7 separate regions of the Homo sapiens genome follow, and regions 1, 3, 4, 5, 6 and 7 are each linked to region 2. Evidence: promoter capture Hi-C in 16 types of primary human blood cells and fetal thymus (Javierre and others, 2016). All regions are on one chromosome and are shown on one strand. The core of a region is centred on a gene start or on the middle of the fragment in contact, and the rest is flanking DNA. Distances in the headings are between cores, read along the strand shown.

The links. The method cuts DNA at HindIII sites, captures the fragments that hold promoters and counts their contacts. A CHiCAGO score of 5 or more calls a contact.
Region 1: a fragment that was not itself captured here is called in contact with the fragment with the promoter of PAXIP1-AS2 in region 2 in 11 of 17 cell types (naive B cells, total B cells, total CD8 T cells and 8 more); the score reaches 11.0 in naive B cells.
Region 3: a fragment that was not itself captured here is called in contact with the fragment with the promoter of PAXIP1-AS2 in region 2 in 2 of 17 cell types (activated CD4 T cells and neutrophils); the score reaches 5.8 in activated CD4 T cells.
Region 4: a fragment that was not itself captured here is called in contact with the fragment with the promoter of PAXIP1-AS2 in region 2 in 4 of 17 cell types (neutrophils, naive B cells, activated CD4 T cells and 1 more); the score reaches 9.5 in neutrophils.
Region 5: a fragment that was not itself captured here is called in contact with the fragment with the promoter of PAXIP1-AS2 in region 2 in 1 of 17 cell types (megakaryocytes); the score reaches 5.1 in megakaryocytes.
Region 6: a contact is called between a fragment that was not itself captured here and the fragment with the promoter of PAXIP1-AS2 in region 2, in 4 of 17 cell types (total CD8 T cells, activated CD4 T cells, total B cells and 1 more). The highest score is 6.8, in total CD8 T cells.
Region 7: a fragment that was not itself captured here is called in contact with the fragment with the promoter of PAXIP1-AS2 in region 2 in 16 of 17 cell types (naive CD4 T cells, total CD4 T cells, total B cells and 13 more); the score reaches 20.5 in naive CD4 T cells.

The regions. Positions count from the first base shown.
Region 1 is chr7:155,284,385-155,287,084 of GRCh38, reverse strand. No RefSeq gene overlaps it. Among named protein-coding and RNA genes, the nearest start is that of INSIG1, 12 kb to the left of the region's middle. The HindIII fragment of the contact is 3,692 bases long and covers 1-2,700 here.
Region 2 is chr7:154,927,067-154,929,766 of GRCh38, reverse strand. It overlaps PAXIP1-AS2 (PAXIP1 antisense RNA 2), which reads right to left and starts at 1,250. Exons shown (of 8, transcript NR_024476.1): 1 at 1,000-1,250; 2 at 743-811. RefSeq lists enhancers at 620-839, 990-1,089, 1,110-1,169. The HindIII fragment of the contact is 7,419 bases long and covers 1-2,575 here.
Region 3 is chr7:155,231,195-155,233,894 of GRCh38, reverse strand. No RefSeq gene overlaps it. Among named protein-coding and RNA genes, the nearest start is that of INSIG1, 65 kb to the left of the region's middle. The HindIII fragment of the contact is 1,914 bases long and covers 363-2,276 here.
Region 4 is chr7:155,390,880-155,393,579 of GRCh38, reverse strand. All of the region lies in intron 1 of LINC03010 (long intergenic non-protein coding RNA 3010), which reads right to left. Among named protein-coding and RNA genes, the nearest start is that of LINC03010, 10 kb to the right of the region's middle. The HindIII fragment of the contact is 4,739 bases long and covers 1-2,700 here.
Region 5 is chr7:155,416,487-155,419,186 of GRCh38, reverse strand. LOC105375594 (a long non-coding RNA gene) reads right to left here. Exons shown (of 4, transcript XR_928239.3): 4 at 358-791. Among named protein-coding and RNA genes, the nearest start is that of LINC03010, 36 kb to the right of the region's middle. The HindIII fragment of the contact is 1,213 bases long and covers 781-1,993 here.
Region 6 is chr7:155,252,157-155,254,856 of GRCh38, reverse strand. It overlaps LOC105375587 (a long non-coding RNA gene), which reads left to right and starts at 751. Exons shown (of 5, transcript XR_001745437.2): 1 at 751-841; 2 at 1,325-2,700. The HindIII fragment of the contact is 1,140 bases long and covers 822-1,961 here.
Region 7 is chr7:155,301,351-155,304,050 of GRCh38, reverse strand. INSIG1 (insulin induced gene 1) reads right to left here. Exons shown (of 6, transcript NM_005542.6): 3 at 2,361-2,485; 4 at 1,634-1,800; 5 at 1,205-1,304. Among named protein-coding and RNA genes, the nearest start is that of INSIG1-DT, 3.7 kb to the right of the region's middle. The HindIII fragment of the contact is 492 bases long and covers 1,077-1,568 here.

The sequences.
Region 1 (2,700 bases), core at 161-2,660, 360 kb before region 2:
TAGGAAGGCAGCCGGGTGTTTGGGGGCCCGGGCCACAGCAGATTTCAACAATAACATGGACAAAACATGGAAAGAGCAAAGAAGACAGTGCAGGTGGCCCACAAGCACATGGAAAGGCACTTAGCTTCACCAGTCAGCAGGGAAATGCGAATCAAAACCACAGTGGGTCGTCACTTCACACCCTTTAGGATGGGTATTGTAAAAACAAAAACCAGAAAAGAACACGCACTGATGAGGGCGTAGAGAGATTGGAACCCTTGTGTGCTGTTGGTGAGAATGTGAAATGATGCAGCTGCTCCAGAAAACAGCACGGCGGTGTATTAGTCAGGGTTCTCCAGAGGGACAGAACTAATGGAATAGATACATATATATGAAGGGGAGTTTATTAAGTATTAACTCACACAATCACAGGGTCCCACAATAGGCCGTCTGCAGGCTGAGGAGCAAGGAGAGCCAGTCCCAGTTCCAAAACAGAAGAACTTGGAGTCTGATGTTCAAGAGCAGGAAGCATCCAGCACGGGAGAAAGATGTAGTCTGGGAGGCTAAGCCAGTGTCTGTTTTCACATTTTTCTGCCTGCTTTATATTCTAGCCGCCGTGGCAGCTGATTAGATGGAGCCCATCCGGATTGAGGGTGGATCTGCCTTTCCCAGCACACTGACTCAAATGTTCATCTCCTTTGGCAACACCCTCAGAGACACACCCAGGATCAATACTTTGTATCCCTCAATCCAATCCAGTTGACACTCAGTATCAACCATCACAGGGGGTTTCTGAAAAGAAATAAAAGAAAGAAAAGAACTACCATGTGAGCCAGCAAGTCTACTTCTGGGTGTTTGCACACAGAAACTGAGTGCAGGGCCTTGAAGAGATACGGGTACCCCCGTGCCCCTCACAGCAACATTCACAAGAGCCAAGGGTGGAGATAACCCAAAGTCCACTGATGGGTGAATGGGCGAGTGAGCAAGATGGGGCCTTTCCGTACCATAGAATATCACTCAGCTGTAAACAGGAAGGAGATGGAGGAAACTGGAGGATGTTATGGTGAGTGAAATCAGCCAGTCGCAAAAGGACAAAGACTCCTCCACTCATATGAGGTCCCCAGAGTCGTCAGATCACAGAGGCGGACAGGAGAGTGGGGGGTGCCGGAGTCTGGGGGAGGGATGGGGCATGAGTGTTTGGTGGGGACAGAGTTTCCTTTCAGAAGATGAAAAGGGTCTGGAGATGGATGGTGGCGATGGCACAACGATGCGAGTGTGCGTAATGCCACAGAACTGTGCACTTGAACATGATTAAAGGGTAAGTTTTATGTTATATATGACTTACCACAGTAAAAAAAATACGGAAGGAGGCAGAAATGACATCGGCCTGGTTCTTCCTTGACATTAGGTCCTGCCGGGACCTATGTTCCATAAGTCCCTGGGGTTGGAGTGCGAAAGCGATGAAGAGGAGACAGAACAGCAGAGGGGTGAGGGCAGGGGCATCGTCTTTGGGTGCAATGCTCTGTGCTCTCAGCTGCTGGAAGCTCCAGCGGCATCCACAAGGCAGCAGGTCCTTCATTAGGCTTCTTTGTCCTTCTTGAGCTTCTTCTCTGCATATTCTCTGGCCTCTCTTCCCTGCCCTCTCAGGCCTCCATCTGTGTGCTGTCATGCTGTCTGCACTCCGGAGGTTAGTGTTTGCTAGAGCTGAGCTTCATTGCAAGAATTCTCTCTGTTCTCATCTCCTTCATCTCTTCTGGGTCACCTGGTGATCCAACAATGTGTCCCTTGATTGAGTTCTCCCAGGGTGAGTCCCCCAGAGGTCTCATCCCCTGTGCTGGTCTCTCTCCCTTTGCTCTCAGTCTCCTGATCCATTCTCTGCCCTTCTGGGTCCTGCCTGGCTCCCCAGGCTGCCTGCTGGCCCACTACCTCTGCAGGTGGTGACAGCAGGTTGAGAGGGTGAGAGAGGGAGGTTGGATGCCCGTCCTGCTCCCTCCTTGCCCAGCCCTCTGTCTGCAGCAGTGGCTGTGCCCCCATCCCTGGACAATAGCTGCTCCCAAGGTGGACCCTCCCAGCTTCCCACTTAGTCTGCAGCCCTGAGGATGGGAAGGTGGGTCCGCTTGGCTCCTTCCTTGGTCTGCAGCCCTGGGGAAGGGAATGACTTCCTCTGTCTCCTGTGTTTGGTTGCCTCACCAGCCCTTGTTTGTTCCTTCACCCTGGCCACACCTCTCCAAGTAGTCTTTTCATTAATGCGTCTTTCCTTAGAGGGTCCAGGGGACTTCTGGTTCCTGCTGGGACCTGGAGGACTTATCACTACTTCTTGTCCCACTCTCAGCAAGCTGCTTTCAGGAAGAACTGACCCCTCTGCAAGCCTGGCTGTCCTCAGTCCAGGTTCCCAGGGATGACACGGAAGCCTCTGAAAGCCATCTCTGGGGCTAAGGACGTGGAGGCTGCTGCGGACATGCAGGCTTCCTCCCACTTAACCCAAGATCGCTGGGGGGCCGTTGCCTTACACCAGGGCAGGGCTCCCTGGGAGCTTGGACACGGAGGCACTGGGCCATTTAATAATATTAGAAAAGCCCATCCAGGCGAGGTGGCTCATGCCTGTAATCCCAGCACTTTGGGAGGCTGAGGCAGGTGGATCACTTGAGGTCAGACATTTGAGACCAGCCTGGCCAACATGGTGAAACCCCATCTCTACTAAAAATACAAACATTAGCTGGG
Region 2 (2,700 bases), core at 1-2,500:
TTCTGTCTATATTATTCCTGCCTGGATGACATAGTGAGGTCTTCACTGCTGGAGAAGGGAGGGCTGGTGGGCCAGAGGGGAGACCCTGCAGAGGTGTGCAGTGTCCTTCTCTGCTGTTCATCTCAACCCGCTGTGTTAGGAAACCAGGAGGAAGCCCTACCTGGAATGAAACAGGTGCCTAGAATGAAGAGGGTAAGGACAAGGTTTAAGACTGTGACACCTGTTGCTTAAGAGACGCATTTAGGAGTGTGGCATGTAGATCCCAAATGTCCGTTTTGTAAAAGTTGTTGTTATTGTTTCACTTTTGTTGTTGTTGTTTGTTTGTTTTGAGATAGAGTCTCACTCTGTTGCCCAGGCTGGAGTGCAGTGGTGCAATCACAGCTCCCTGCAGCCTCAACCACCTGGCTCAAGCACTCCTCCCACCTCAGTCTCCCGAGTAGGCGGGGCCACATGTGTGCACTGCCATTCCTGGCTAAGTTTTCTTTTAATTCTTTGTAGAGACAGGGTTTCCCTATGTTGCCCAGGCTGGTCTTGAACTCCTGGCTTCAAGCAATCCTCACACTTCAGCCTCCTAAAGTGCTGGGATTACAGGCGTAAGCCACCACGCCCAGCCTGTTGTTATTGCTTTGAAGGAGTTCAGGAAATGCCACCCCCATGGCACTTGGGAGTGCTGATCCCTGTGAGCTGAGGGCACTTGGGAATCAGCGGATGCAGGCAGAGGTTTCCTCTGAGCTCCCCTTACCTGCCTGAAGACGGATCCTCCAAAAGGAACTCAGCTGTCATGAATCGCCTCCCCAGGAATCTCGTCAATCTGGGAGGATTAACACAGATCACAGGAGAGGACACTGGAGGTGACATCAGCCCAGATGACTATCACCCGTTCTCCCGAAGGCGGCTCTGAGATGTTTACGACCTCAGAGACATTTCATCCACAGAGCAGCACAACCTTTACTCACCAGACAGTCCCTCCCCAGGCTCTCCCATCACTTGTGTTCTCACCTCCCCTGGAAGCCCCGGGAACTTCGAAGTAGGCTTCTGTGGACTCCTGCCACTTCATCAGTAGCTGGGGCCCTGGTACCAGCACAAACTGCTTGCATCCAACTGACTTCACCAGACATACGGGCGTCTTTGGTAAGACCGCTCTCAGGTTTTGAATCTCCCAGGTTTGGGCTGAGATTCAGATTTTATTTAAGTAAATGAATTTCATGCTCAGTGGGACTGATATTGAAGCCGCCATTTAGGGCTTTAAGGCAGGAGTTTCGCGTCATTTCTCTAAAGATTCTGCTATTGGCAGGTTTGTGGTTTCACTTTTCTATTAGGTTAAGTTTTCGTTCGTCTTACTTGCTCTTTTGTAACCTTTTCTCTCATTGGACATTTTACTTGCTCAAGTTTGTAACCTTTTCTCTCATTGGACATTTTTTTACTTGCTCAAGTTTGTAACCTTTTCTCTCATTTGACATTTGGTTAAAGAGAAAGCAGTTTTCTTTGTAAAAGGAGAAAGTGAATGTTTGTGGCTTAAGCCAAATTTGTGGCTTTAAACCAGCCAGGCTTTGGATCTTGGTTAACATTGAGATTTAAAGTTTCTTCCTGAGTCACCCAAAATTTGTAAAAGGTTGGAATGAGGACGTGATAAGCTGAAGACAAAAAGGACTCTTTCTCCCAGCTGAAAGGCACCTTAGGCAATGGAGGTAACACAAGGGTGTGGAAGCTCACAACAAACCCCAGAGAAGAACTCACAGGGAGAGCTGCTTAACCCCCGGGGCACACAACACACAAGGGGTTCGTCACCCAGTGCCTTGAACTCCCAGAAATGTCTGGGTTTCTCTGAGGTAGGTAAGAGGGAAGAAGCTACTTGTAGGTGATACCTCCAGGAATAATCCCTACTAAGCAGCACACTGGACCCCAAACACTTTTCCCTTTTAGCCTTTGGGCATTTTAAAAGAGAATCCAAATTATGAGCAATTATCCATCTATAACCAAGCCCTCATTAAGCAATGCACCTTTGGAAACTCCAGCGGGGTTTATGTACAAGACTTATGGCGCCACCTCCTGTCGATAGTTGGAGAAATGGTCTTATTTGACCTAAGAAGATCCTAAATTACAATGATCAAAGAGAATTATCTTTGAAATAGCTAGATTAGTTTATTTATATGCACAATTTTAAAAAGCCAGCTATGGAATCAAATAAAATAATTAAGAGAGTTACTTCCAATGGCACCCAGAAGCATCCAAAAGAGGTTTTGACAGAATTCTTCCCTTAGAGGAAGAAAATAAAAAGCACTCTAAAACCATTACTGAATTTTAAAAAACACTGAAATGTCTTCTTCTCTCCCTGCTCCCCTGTCTCTCTAAGCCTCCTTGTCAGAACTACCCAGCCCTGATTGACCTTCTCCTCCTCCTCCTCCTGCCCCTCCTCCTGCTCCCACTGGTTTGGCTCCATTTCATCCAGCATCTGGTAGAGGGGAACCTGCTTTATCAATCATGATCAAACTTACAGGCATAGTTAAAAGAATTCCTTGATCTTCACCAGGTTCCTATTGGTTTTGCTAGGAAATTTGAATTAAATATCCAAGCTTATGACCCTAGTTATTCTGACTTCTAGCAACAGATTCACATGTTAGTAGCAAAAATTAAAGCTAAAGGCTGGCTAGACAAAGCTCACTGGAGAAATCTGTTAGGGATCTTCATAAATGTTCAGAA
Region 3 (2,700 bases), core at 70-2,569, 300 kb before region 2:
TGGCCCACCAGACCCTCGGCATTCCCAGCCTCCTTAATGTGCTGTGCATTCCCTCAAATTATCCACAATCCGGCACCACCCAGAGTCCACGCTGACGCAGCTGCGCGTCTCTGAGGGCCCAGGCAGAGCTGTCCTTTTGAAGCTTGTCTCTGGGCTGTGTCTGCACCAGAAACCGGCTCGCCTTGCCTGCCCCACCGTGTCCTTGACAACAGCTCCTATTTCCTTTGTTTAAGACAGAGCATAAATATTAGTGGGCGATTTAGTTACGAACCTAACAGGGATGTCTTGGAGACAGCTTTAGTGCAGAAGCCAATGAATTTGGATCTGTCTAGTGCAAAGTTCAAAGCTACTTAAAGAAAGCTTTTCGTTTGTTTGTTTTCCTTTCTCTCTTCATTTGGTGAAATGTCTGGGAAGTGTACGGCTGGCAGGCTGAAAAAGTCCTGGGAGAAAATAACTCGTGCTGGAGAGCAGCAAAGTCCTTCCCACTGGAACTTCCTAGACGAGTCCTTTGGGTTACACATCTGGAATTACTTTTACTAGACAAATCTCTTTTCACTGGACGTCTCTGATTTCAGAATGTGTGATAATTCAGACACCAGTTTGTTGATCTGAAGTTGCCTTCATCATATTCCATGATAGAGGATTTACCAAGCAAATGTCTGAATTATCGATGCTTTGAAGTCCTGTAAGGCCCATTTTGAACCGTAGGAACTGAAATGTTGGTTGATTAGAGGCACTGATGCTCTGGGTGTGGTGTGACAGAAGCGTGAGAGCCGTGTGCAGGGCCTGGGTTTGCAGCCTGGCTCTGCCCCTTGCAGGCTTTGCTCACGGGGTCCCTGTGAGCTGCTTACTCACCTGCCGGGGAAGTGAGCGAGTCCTTCAAAGGAGGCGTTGAAAGCCGACAACAAAGGCACCTTAATACACCTTTGAAGATACTGCCTCGGTCTCAACTCCACCACGAAGACTAAGACGTCTCTGTCTGCCCTGTGAAAGCGTTTAAGGACATGGCTAATTTCTGCCATCAATAAATTTACTGGTCTTATTCTATTGGGTCACTATAAAACTGGCAACAAGCAAACAGGTCTTCAGCAAAAAAGCACTTTGATGCTCATATTACCCCAAATCACTGTGATCATTAAGGATAGAAATCAAGAAGGAACAACAAAATGTGCAGGCCCTAAAACAGAAAGGACGGACGGAGCGAAGCCTCCTGCCTCCTTCCTCTTCCCAGCTTTGCAGCAGGTCCTCAAGTGGGCAAGGGCTGTGGGAGTTTTCTTTTGCTGCTATTATGGTAAATTACCACAAACTTAATGGCTTAAGACAACACAAATTTATTATCCGAGAGTTCTGTGGTTCAAAGGTCCACTACGGGTCTCACTGGGCTACGGCCAGGTGTCAGCACACTGCATCCTTCTGGGGACTCCAGGGGAGCCCCCGTTTTCTTGCCTTTTCCAGGTTGGAGGATGGCCACCTCACTGGGCTTGGGCCCTTCTGTCTTGCAGCTGCAGCAGCATCTCTCTGACTGTATCTGGCAGCGCAGCCCTTCCTCCGACTCCTCTCCCTTCCTCCTCACCAGAAGCACCTGGGATGACATTCACCCACTGGATGATCCAGGAGAATCTCTCGTCTCAAGGCCACCGATGAGCAACCATCATCCTCTGCCATGGAACCTGACACAGGCTCGCATTCCAGGGATCCAGACGTGGATGTCTCTGGGGCCATTGTTCCCTCGACCACAGGGAACAACTGCATGGGTTTCCACTGGTCAAGACAGAAATGTCGCATGACTTGGCCGAAGCAGCTGCAGTGGGCAGCCAGGGGTGGAGGCCTCTGTCCTCCACTTTGAGGCTCTGGTCAGGCGTTTAATTCCTTGCTCCGGAGATATTCCCAGTGAGTCGGCTCTCGTTAAATCTCAGAAAATTCGGTGCTGTGGAGTGGATGAGACTGGTGTATCATTGTTTAGGCCTCATCTGAGCCTATGGATTCTGTCTCAGTGATGGGGACCAGCCCAGGCCGCTGTTTCCACAAAAGAATGACTCTAACAGCAGAAAGGAGAGATGTGTGCAGAGTGAGACCTCTGGCCTGCCATGTGGGGGAACCCGCCCGGCTCCCGGCAGTGTCTCTTGGGTGGCCTCTGGGCCACCAGCGTCTGAATCCCGGAGGACTTGTTAAGGAAGGAACCTACTCCCAGTCTGGTCCCTCAGAATCAGAGTCCCTGGTAACAGGGGCCAGGGAAGCTGCACTTTTCCCCTGTGATTTTCACGTAAAATGAAGCTTTGGAATCGCCAGTACATGGGCATGGGCATGGGCATGGGCATGGACGGGCCAGCCGGATGGACGGCCGCTGCCGAGACGGAAACCTGGGAGGACTGGTCGGTCTGTCTCCTTCAGGTAGTGCTCAGGAGGCTCGAGCACACCTCGTTCCCCGTGGCACTCATGCCCACACTCATCCCTGAAACTTGAGCCAATGTAAGAAACAGCCGTGTGTGGTGATCCATGGGGTGCTGCAGGCAACAGATGCCAAATGCGGTTTTTGTGATGGGAGTCTGGGGCGGGATAACTGTGGGTGCTGCGGGCAACAGACCCCGAATGCGGTTTTTGTGATGGGAGTCTGGGGCGGAATAGCTGTTCTAGAGCCGTGAAGGGATCAAGCACATTCCCAAAGCCCCTGCTCGGCATAATGACCTTATTAAGTCCACG
Region 4 (2,700 bases), core at 37-2,536, 460 kb before region 2:
TAAGAACTCTCAACCACAGCCCAACACTCCCACCCAACATTATTACTGACTCTTTTCCCTTCACATGGCAGGGATGGGGTAGAGGGGTGACACATTGGAAGGGTTAGGTGGCAGGTCTGTTTCCTCCTCTTGTCCTGTATTTGATGATGAGCCCAGGTGACTCACTGCAGACCTCATGTGGTGAGTGACTACTAAGTTCTGATATGCCTGGCTGGTCCATGGTGGCTGAAAGTCACAGAACTCTGGATGAAGCCGAGGGTGGCAGCAGCTGTCCCCAGGGCTAACCCACATGATTTCACATTTGTGAGTGCAAATCCCTTCCGAGAGGGTTTTTATCTGTCCTGCTGGTCCCTGGGGCAGGAGGAACCCTCAGAGGTTGCCCAGGCCCTCTGCTCAGCAGTCACACAAGGCCACTCACTACCTTGTGTGATTATGAGCCGGCTCCCTGGCATGCCATTGTTAGAACATCCTTAAGCAGGGATTATTTTTTCGTGAAGCTGCAATTAAATATTGTAAATTCAGAAACGTGGCTGGAGGAACAATGGGCCTGGAGAACAGGAAGAGATGCAGGTTGGGGTAAGTCACCATTTCACCGTCCTCTGCAAAGTGGATGAGATCGCAGCCTCTTTGTCCGCGCCTGTGGATGAGTGCTCTGCAGCTGCTGGCTTTCTGATGTGGGACTGCTGAGCATTCACACACTGATTCACTGGAGCCAAAATACTCACAGCAGAAAATAGTGTTTGCTCAGGGTAACGCCTGCCCCTGGAACCTGCCCTAGTCCTCCTCTTCCAGACAATGCCATTCCCAGCCATGTGAAGAAAAAACCCCACGCTATTGTTCCCAGAAGACACCTTCAGAAAGAAACCTGCCTAGTGAGCACCGCCAAGCAAGGATGGCGGGAGGCACCTGCGTACCCAGTCACCCGAGTCCCCAGCATGCAGAGGCCCTGCAGGCAGGTGGGAAGCCGGGCCTGCTTCTCAGCACCTCTCTCCTGGTCCCGGGTTCTCCTCCTCCCTAGGATTACTTAGGAAGAAAGTGTTTCACACAAAGACCAGACACAGGCTCAGTGTTGGTGCTTTGGGTAGAAAGGTTGAAGTTGGCCCGGTGGGTAAGCCTGCGCCGTTATGGAACGCCGGGCAAAGTCCATCATGGGGGGAAATGAGAAATGGCCGGCCACCTTTCAATGGCTCCTGGGACATCTATCCGCAGGCAGAGCCACACCGCAAAGAATCCCCAGGGATTCCTTCCAGGTATCATCTAAAGATCACCCATCTCAGTGCAAAACCGTGCTTTTCCCAAAGCAAGTCTGGAAAAGGTCTTTCAAACCCGGTCTGTGCAAAATGGCATTTCCATCGTTGTCACCAAAGACAGCAGCAAAACGCCTGGCATCTGATAGAAACATCAGTTCTGACTGCGCTGGTGAGGTGGCAGGAGAAGGCCCTCCCTCGCTCTGTGGGTCGCCCCTGAGCTTCCGAGGAAAGCCATTTGGTTGATATCTGAGGAAAATTTGATCTCGTGCTGCTAGGGCTATTGGTACAAAATGGAGATTCCAGAGAAAGCATCACTAATTTAAAATTGAATTTTAAATTGTCTTTTCCATCTTTCAAAGCCCAGCCCAATTCCTAAAGCAACACATAACTGGTTTTTCATACTTTCCATGAAAAACAAATGCACATATTTTATACTGTTTCTTCTGAGCAATGGTAAATGGCTCTTTTCTTTTGACTTTTTGGATTTTTACCCTTTTTTCCAATGCTTAGGATGGAAATTCCAGAAACCTTACAGAATTACACAGTACTCTAATTTCCCATTTGGGGAGCCCTTTAGAAAGTGCGCTGACTTTTGAAAGCTGCAATCTGAGAGTATTCTGTCTATAGGGTCAAACCCTCATGGACATGGGCCCCACAGGGGGAAGCGAGGCTGAGGTCTGTTCCCTGCAGGTGGGCTGGACACGGGGCCCTGGGCAGCAAGGAGGCTCACGGCTCTCCTCACGTATCTCCAACCTGGGACCGCTCTGGCCATCCTCCCCACCCCTGTGCAGAGCTCTGGGTACCCCCAGCTCTCCCTCACGGTGTCCTGATCTTCACTCACCTGGACACACTGCACAGATTTCAGAAACAGGACTCTGCAGAGAAGGCATCTCCTGCCCCGAGGGAGTGGGTTTGCAGGGGTACCACATCAGCCCTTAATGGGGGAGGGTTTTAGGTGGGTCCTCTTGGCCTCCTAGGTCTCAACATGTTCATAACTGGGCTGGGCCCACCTAAAATAAATGGACTGCTTTAACTCCCTCAATTTATCACGAGGTCTAATACGAACATAGAAAAGGAAAGAAGCATTTGGGTATTGAATGACTGCACATTTTCTGAACTCATCGCCATTTCGAGCTTAGGCTCCTTAAACGTTTGACTCCAGGCCGTTCACATGTTGGCTTCAGGGACTGCACTGGCTACGCTTTCTCTGCAATATTATCCACAGCTGTAGAACCTGTGGTTGTGAAGGAGGATGCATTATTAATCCTGCCTCCCAGCCTGTGCATATTGAAACCAGCTCTCCGACATCTTAGACTCCAGCAGGCACGGACCCTTTCAAGACGGTAGGATTTTGAGCTCAGTTACGTGAACTGTGAACTCTCAGCCACGCCAGCATTAGGTTAGTATACAACCCTTGTACACAGGGTGTCACGCTCATATTTTAATGAAA
Region 5 (2,700 bases), core at 138-2,637, 490 kb before region 2:
AGCAACTGGGAGCCCTGCCTCAGGCTCGGCTCCGCCTGCCATGCCACAGAGCAGGACTTGGGTGCTGGCGGCGGGAAGCCCTCATCACATGGTTCTGGGGCCTTGGAGAAGACCCTCCACAGCCCTCCTGCTCCCTCCTCAGCAGCCAGGTGCACAGACCAGAGACTGTCCCATGGGTGACTCCCTGCGTTGGAAGAGAAGCGCTCCTTCCTCCACCTCCTCACAGAGGAGGAGACTGAAACCAAGATAAATCAAGGGACGTGCCCAGCTCCACAGGGACTCACCGGTGGAGTACGGAGAAGAACAAAGCCTCAAGTCATTAGTTATGAATTTTTTAACATAACCACACGTTAAACATAAAATGTAGAGCAATTTTTAAGCCTTTTTGAGGACTAGGAGTTCACGCTGCATCTCCCGTGGGCAGGATGGGAGGAGGGCAAAGTGCAGGATGCTAACAGTTCCCTGCAGGGGAAGAGCCCAGGGGCTCCAGGTGCCTGGGTGGAGCCCAAAGGTCAAGGGGACTTCACCCCCAGGCCCACTGCCTGGAAAAGTCATCAAATAGAGGAGGAAAGCGCTGAGCACAGATAATGCACCAAAATGGCCTGGTCACAGCAGGGAGAGAAAGCAGCTGGGCAGGGAGGGAGAGCAGCCAGGCAGGGAGGGAGAGCAGCCGGGCAGGGTTGCGCATGTGCCGGTCTGTAGAGCGGTCTGCGGTGCGGTCTGTCGTGCGGTCTGCGGTGCGGTCTGTAGTGCTTTCCAGATGTGAGGCTCCAATAAGCTTCCTGTATGAGCTGGGCATGGAAATGCCCCTTCGGATCCCTCCAGGGAAGGCCCTGCCCTCCAGCATTGGGAGAGCAGCCTCAGATACCTCCAGCTGTCCCTCCTTCAGGCTGCCTCAGCTGCAGATGGTCACCTTACCCGGGACCAGCTGTGGGGGGTATGAATGCCCAGCCCTTCCCGCCCACCTGCAGCAACTCTAACAGGCCCCACAGCCCAGGGCTCCCTGGGGGTGCCGAGGCTGGGCCAGGGTGCATCTTGCTGGGCTTCTCTCTCTGCCCCTTTCCCAGGCATGGGTCCCTGATCAATATCCTGTGCTCTAAACTCCATCTTAGCATCTGCAAGCAAGTGGGGGACAATACTCTGTCTCAGCTTCAAAGAAGACGGAGAACTGATAAGGGCGAATGCCAAGACTGGGCCAGGGAGGGTGCAGCAAAGAGCCACGGCAGGTGGGAGGAGTGGGGGGGCTGCCCCTGAACAGTGGGGAGCAGGGCTGGGGAGGACGGGGCCCTACAAGCCTGGGCTACACCCAGGGACCAATTCCTAAGCAGAAAAACCACAAGCAGTGAGCCCGGAGGGGTTGGGCCTGGGGTTAAGGGGAGAAGGAGAGACGGTGAGAGCAGTCAGACATCCCACTCACGGGCAGGGCATGGAGGGCTTGGCTGGGCGCCATCTCCCAGATCCAGGAGGAGCAGGAGGAGGCCAGAGGTGGCTGCGCCATTTCTTTCCTCCACCTGGCCCAGGACTTCCTGACTCTGAGAAACACAGCCCTCTAACTGGCCAAACAAGGTGTAGGTGATGAAAACATGTCCCTTTGCCACTGGGGCAGCTGTCAACAGCATTAAGGTGTGTGTTATCTTTTGAGCTCCATGTTCCCTGTGGTGAAGAAGGCTGGATGCCTCCAAGCAGGGCAGAGAGAGATGAGAGCAAGGGCCAGAGAAACAGGGAAGAGAGAGATGGGAGCAGGGGCTGGAGAAGGAACTTGCCTGAAGCCTTCTCTTCTGAATCTGCATATAACTTCATATAGAAAGAGAACATACGTATTGATAAGAGGAAAATGATTCAATAGAAAAAAAAAAAAGGGAAGGATCTGCACAGCTAATTTCACATGGGAGGAAATCCAGATGAAAGCGATGCAGGACAGGCAAACACCAAAATCGGGGCTTGCCCAGGAGGGAAGAACTCCAGGGCGGGCCAGGGGTGTGAGGCAGAAGCTTTTGTGGAAGCCCCGTGCACAGCGGCGGCAACGGAGGGACTGCTCTTGGTAAAGCAGGGCTCCCCCATAGGCAGTGCGCCCAGGGTAGCAGCTTAGCGGCAGGTCTGCAGTCATGTTTAGGTCCACTTTTAATTATATGCAAATTAGGGGTGGTTTATGCAGAACTTTTAGGAAAAGGGTGGTAACTTCCGGGTTGTCAGGTTATTGAAGGGGTGGTACTCCGGGTATTGCCGTGACAATGGTAAACTGACATGGCACACTGGTTTTCTGCCCCTCCCTGTTTCAGCTAGTCTTCAATTTGGTCCTGTGTCCAAGAGCCCCGCCTCTGGACTCAGGTCCCACCTCCTACCTCAAAAGCAAAGGTCTGAAGGTGGTCCCACCACGCTAGCAAAGAGGGAGATGGAATTGAGGCCTACTGAAGTGCTCCACAGCCTAACACTCACTAGCAGAAGCCTTGTGGCCTTTGCTGATATTGAGGAATTAACGGGATTGCACCTAGGTTGCTAAAAACTCTTGGTGCCTTAGAAATGCGTATGGGTGTCTGTTGGTGAAATACCATAATGTTTGGCAGGGATTTGTTCTAAATATGTTCCAGAAAATGGCCAGGGAAACAGATGCAATACAATTAGTAAAAGCTGATGGTGGTCGCAGCTGGGTGGTGAGTATGGTTCGTTGTTCTGTTCTCTGGACTTTTGTGTATGTTTGAG
Region 6 (2,700 bases), core at 142-2,641, 320 kb before region 2:
GAACCTCAGACCCACCATATTTTTTAGCCTGGGGGCTGGGAAAAGGGAATAGGAAGTCATAGCTGTCTCATCCTACTCAATCTTACTGCCCTTTGTATTGGAGAAGGTGCAGAAACCATTTCAGAGCAGCCTCTGTCTTGCTTCTCTTCTCCATTTCTTTTTTGTCCTTTTCTTTCCTTTTTTCTCCTTTTCTTTTTCCCCAAGGGAAGAGGAGAAAACTAAAGAAAAGGGTTTGGGCCAGATAGTTCAAAATAGAAACGAGATGGCAGGGAACGCATTCTTACAACTTTCCTGCACCAGAAACCAGGCTCCAGCACAATGCATGAGGCCAGGATGAAGCCACTGAGGTGTTAGGATTAGACTAAGGAATCCTGCAACCAGCAACAACGTTTCCTCAGGTGCTGGAGAGCAGAGGAGTGGCCTGTCTTTTAGGGAGCACAGCATGGATTGAAAACCCTGAACCCAGGCCAGGGCGGGCAGGGCGTTTGGCACAGGTGAGCGCCTGGCTCTTACATGAACCCCAAAAGGAAGCAGCATGATCCTCATGTTTCCGGTGAGGAGACCATGAGGAGATGCAGTCACCTCCTCAGGCCGCCCTGCTAGTTGGCGTTGAGGACAGGCTGCGCACCTCCCCGCTCTGTGGGCAGGTGTGCTCAGCCTTGCCAGGTTGTTACACAGTTTCCAAGACATTGCAACATTGTTGCTATCAAGTAACAGTGAGATAAAGAGGACTGCCCTGCAAGCTACCACAGCCAGAGGCTGGGTTCCTTCTAAATGGTGGGGGAGTGAGAAGCCTGTGGGCCATGGAGCTCTGGGAAGCTTCCAGAACATCAGGCTTGAGGTGGGTCTCCATCAGTATTGAGTGGGTGGGGAAGAGCCATGGGGAATGGCACAGACAAGGTACGGGGTGGTGTGGGAGGCACAGGTGTGTTTGAGGGCTGAGGGTCTGTTCACGTGGTAGAGACGTGGGGGATGCGGCTGGAAAGTGAGGGGCCAGGAACTTAGTCTGGCAGGAGGCAGTTTTCGGTAAGCAGAGGGGAGGGAGACAGTGAAGGTTGTGGAAGGATAGTGGAAACAAACAGAGCAGGCGCCTTCCACACTCCAGTCAGGAAGTGCAGACTGGGGGCTCCAGGGATGCCCCCATCCAACCCCTCAGCCTCAGAGGAGGACGGAGCTGCAAAGGAGGAATACCTCTCCAGGTCCCACAGCCAGGGAAGTGCTGTGGTCCCCACACTCCCTTCAGCTGCCCGCCAGGGACCACTAGCCCTACGTGGGTTTTTCAATTTAAATTAATTAAAATGAAATGAAAATGTCTGCTTCTCAGCCGCCCTGGCCACATTCATGTGTTCCACTGCCACGTGTGCCAGTGACTACTGTCGGGATGTGCCAGGTCTAGGACATTCCCACCGCTGCGGAAAACTGCGCTGCTTCTCCTGTGGCTGCTTCTGCCACGTGGCCTTGAAGGAAACCCACGCTCCAGGGAGGCTGGGCATTGCCTGCCCCTGGACCCCAGTCGGAGTCCCCCCTGGTGGCTGCCTGGGCCTCAGCCACGGCCCCTGAGCAGCTTCCAGCATCCCGAAGGCTCTGCCCCAGGTCCGAGGCCATTCCACGGTCGCTCCCTGCTTCCTCTCCTCCTCCGCTCCCCTTGCTTGTGTCCTTGGCAATGCCCTGCCCCAGTTTCTGCCCCAGAGCCGCTGGCCAGAAATGGCTGAGGTTCGTAGCTGGAGGAAGTGGGCCTGGGCTGACGAGGTGGCACCACTTTGTCCTGGAACATCCCGCCCCTTGGCCTGGGTTCCGCTTGGGAAACAGGCGAGGTTCGAAAGGTGAGTTTTTAGAATTGTCCAATGGCAAGCTGTGACAGTTGTGTGTACCCTGGAGCTCATCCCACCGTGGAAAACTCTGGGAATGTCTGTCTCCACAGTCCTCGGCAAGCGGCCCCAATAGTGGCATTGTTTCAAGCTTTTGGAATATTGTTTTTGGGAAATAAAGTGACTCCTGCTCATTTAGCTGTGCCAACTCACTTGTTTGTCTTATTCTTTTTGCTCAGCAGGTGGCATTTTTGTTCAGTGATTTTATTTGTATCCGCCCGTGTTCATCAACTATGACATATTAATCATGCAAATTAGGATATGATTAATGAAGGAAAAATTAATTCCGCCACTGCATCTGGGTCTGCTGTGACAGCTTAGTGAATGCCCTCATTCTCTGATGCCATCAGCAACTTCTCCAGGGCCGCTGCCGATTGATATATTAATGTTTAGGGTAAAGGTTAGGGACCGAAGCCCAGAGAGACTTTCCTCTCCAGGGCTGGTGTTACAAGCACATATTTGCCTGACAGTGCACATTTTTGAGACAGCGTGTTGCTAAACCCCGTCCTCCTTCCCACTGTGTGAACAGTTTGTAGGAGGAGGGAGTTCGCTCTGTCTTTCGGTGTCTTCTAGACTGAAGCCCACTGTGTCCAGGGCAAGCTCCCCGACCAACTCTGACTCTTGCTGTTTCCAAGGTCCCAGCTTCTTGTTTTCCAGATGCTATTTGCAGACCACGCAGTGACCCATTCGTCCTTGGTAAGTGCTCCTTCTCCTCAGGACTCTGCTCTGGAAACATGAGCTAGGGCTGCAATAAGTTTATCTTCATGATACAGAGTCCTGCAGATAATTTAAATGAGTGCCCCACATCATTTTCTCCCATTGCCCTCTGGTT
Region 7 (2,700 bases), core at 73-2,572, 370 kb before region 2:
TCAAGGTTACAGTGAGCTATGATGGCACCACTGCACTCCAGAGCTCTGTCTCAAAAAAAAAAAAAAAAAAAAAAGGCAAGCAAAGTCCTTTCTTCTCCATCATGAGAAATTTGGCAGCAGAGAGTCAGTAACCAGTGGAAGACTGCAAATTCTACCTGTAATTACTTCTGGTTTTGTGAAACAGCCAAGTGGTCTTCAAATTCAACTCCTCACAGAAGGGTATCAGCTGGCAAAAATAAATGTACTGTTTTAAAAATAGCATGAGGTACTAAGATAAGTTTTCCCAGAGCTTATCTCCGAGAGCAACAGCTCTAGGTTTTTGTTGTTTTTTTTAATTTACTTTCTTTCAGCCTGCCAAAGTCAACTCAAAATAACATTTAAAAGTCCACCTCTATGTTTTTAAATTGAAGTGCTAAGATGTCAATTTTTAACTAATGAGAACTGCTAAAGCCATCCTGGAGTTCACTACCTTTCCGTCTCCCTCAGGGGGGCTGTGAGAGAAGCTCTGCGGGGTAGCACTGCTTTCTCCTGCAGCTGAGAACAGATGCAATGTTCAGGCAGGACAGTCCGTCTACATGGTGACCCGGCCACGTGCAGCGGTGCTCTCATCACCACTTCTCCATGCCCAGGGCCACCTGCCCCACAGAAAGGTGCTGCCTGCCTGAACCAGGCTGTCCCCTTGCCCACCCACATTAGTCCCTGCCCTGGCCCGAGACAGACTCTGCAGCCTCAGGCTCGATTTGCTTGACTGTGGACTAAGAGGCCAGCATCATCTGCATCCACTCTGATTTTGTGAAAAGAAACACTGGTGGACTGATGCTCAGGGAGCAAAGTATCACTGCATGAGGTCATCCAGATCTGCTTCCGATGGTGAAGGAGGAGGGGACACTCACACACCAGTCACTTTCTCTACTGCTTACTACAGAAATTTCAAGAATTCAGAACACTGACCACATCTGCAATTCAAAGGGGCAGTGCGAGGGCTCTAGTTCCTTTTCTAGATCAAATATTATGAATTTTTATAATTTAGCAAAGAATTACCTGGGTATCATTACCTATTTTTTTAAATATAAGCTTTTCTCAGTAGTTGTCACTCAAGTCTGAACCAGAATATATGAACGCAAATTTGAATGTATCATGTAAAGTCATTCTATCAAGGTAAAGAGACGCAAGTTTTAGAAGATAATATGATCATTTCACTTACCATAGCTAACTGTCGTCCTATGTTCCCCACCGTGACGCCTCCTGAGAAAAATATACAAGGGAGCCAAGAACGAATATAGAGGAAATCTGGGGATGTATACCTGGAGCGAGAAAAGAAACTGTACCTTAGCAGTCAATTTCACCTGGCTCAATTCTACATCACAGATTCTCTGTAGTGGGGATATGCAGAACGCATATCAACCATCCAATGTTACGAATGTTCATATTTGTTTGGTTGTAACTGCTACTACTTGGTTTTCCTTTGCGTTACATTAAGTTATGGATAGCAGCATTTTTGAGAATTTCATGCCTAAATCTGTATCATTCTATATAAAAAACAAATAAAATATGAAAATATCTAAGCTTAGTGGATGTTTTAATGAAAGTTAAGTAAGCTTTCCAAAGCCAATATTTGAAAACACACACTTACTGATAGACACCATTATACACGAGAAACTGCGTGATCAGCGTAGCTAGAAAAGCTATGGTGATCCCCAGCCCAAGGCCACTTCTGGAACGATCAAATGTCCACCAAAGGCCCAAAGATAGGGCTGCTAAAGTCAAGGACAGCTGGACATTATTGGCAAAATCCAATTTCTGGTGATATAAAAGTTAAGGAAAAGTTTGCTGACTCTTATTAAGATAAAAAAACGTAAAACCACAAGGGTTAAAAACATGGGTATTTTATTATTGTACCACAGATAATTCACTGTCCATAAAAACTGTGTAATAAGCTAAAGAAAGGATTTGTTGGATACAGGTTACAGTAATCATTAAGATCACCTGAAATCTCCCTGCCATCACTGAGTCAAAAACTTAACCATAAGAATAAACTTGCTGAAAGCTATATATAAAGTGCTTATATATATTTATATAAATATATATTTATTATATATATTATATATATTTAAAAATATATATAATATATATAAAAATATAAATAAATATATATTTATTTTGACCATAAAACAATATATTTTACTATGAAGTCATCGATAGCCCCATTCTTCTTTCTCTTTTTAGTAATCTGAAATGGGTAGGTACCACCATCATGTCTGTATTATGACATGGAGTCATTTGAGTATATAACAAAACAAAACGCTTCAATATATAACCTAAGAAGATACTCTGGACGTAGCACAGAAAATTAAGGATACAGCACTGGCGTGGTTAATGCCAACAAAAACTGCTATGCAGCGCATGACACTGGCCCATTCTCTCTTAAATTTGTGGGGTTCTCCGAGGTGACTGTCGATACAGGGGTACAGTAGGCCAACAACAGCTGTTTTAAAAAAGTTGACAATGTTAGAATACAGCAGATTCAAGTTCCAGAATTTCAACGTGGTCATTAGTAACACAGTACATTACTCAAACCAGTCCTTTTCCTAGAAAAAATTATCAGCTATAACTTCAGAGTGATTTTATATTCTTGTTCTCTTTGAGTACCACTCCCACAAAATTGTACTGTTTGGAAAAGTTTTTTAAAAATCACTATTA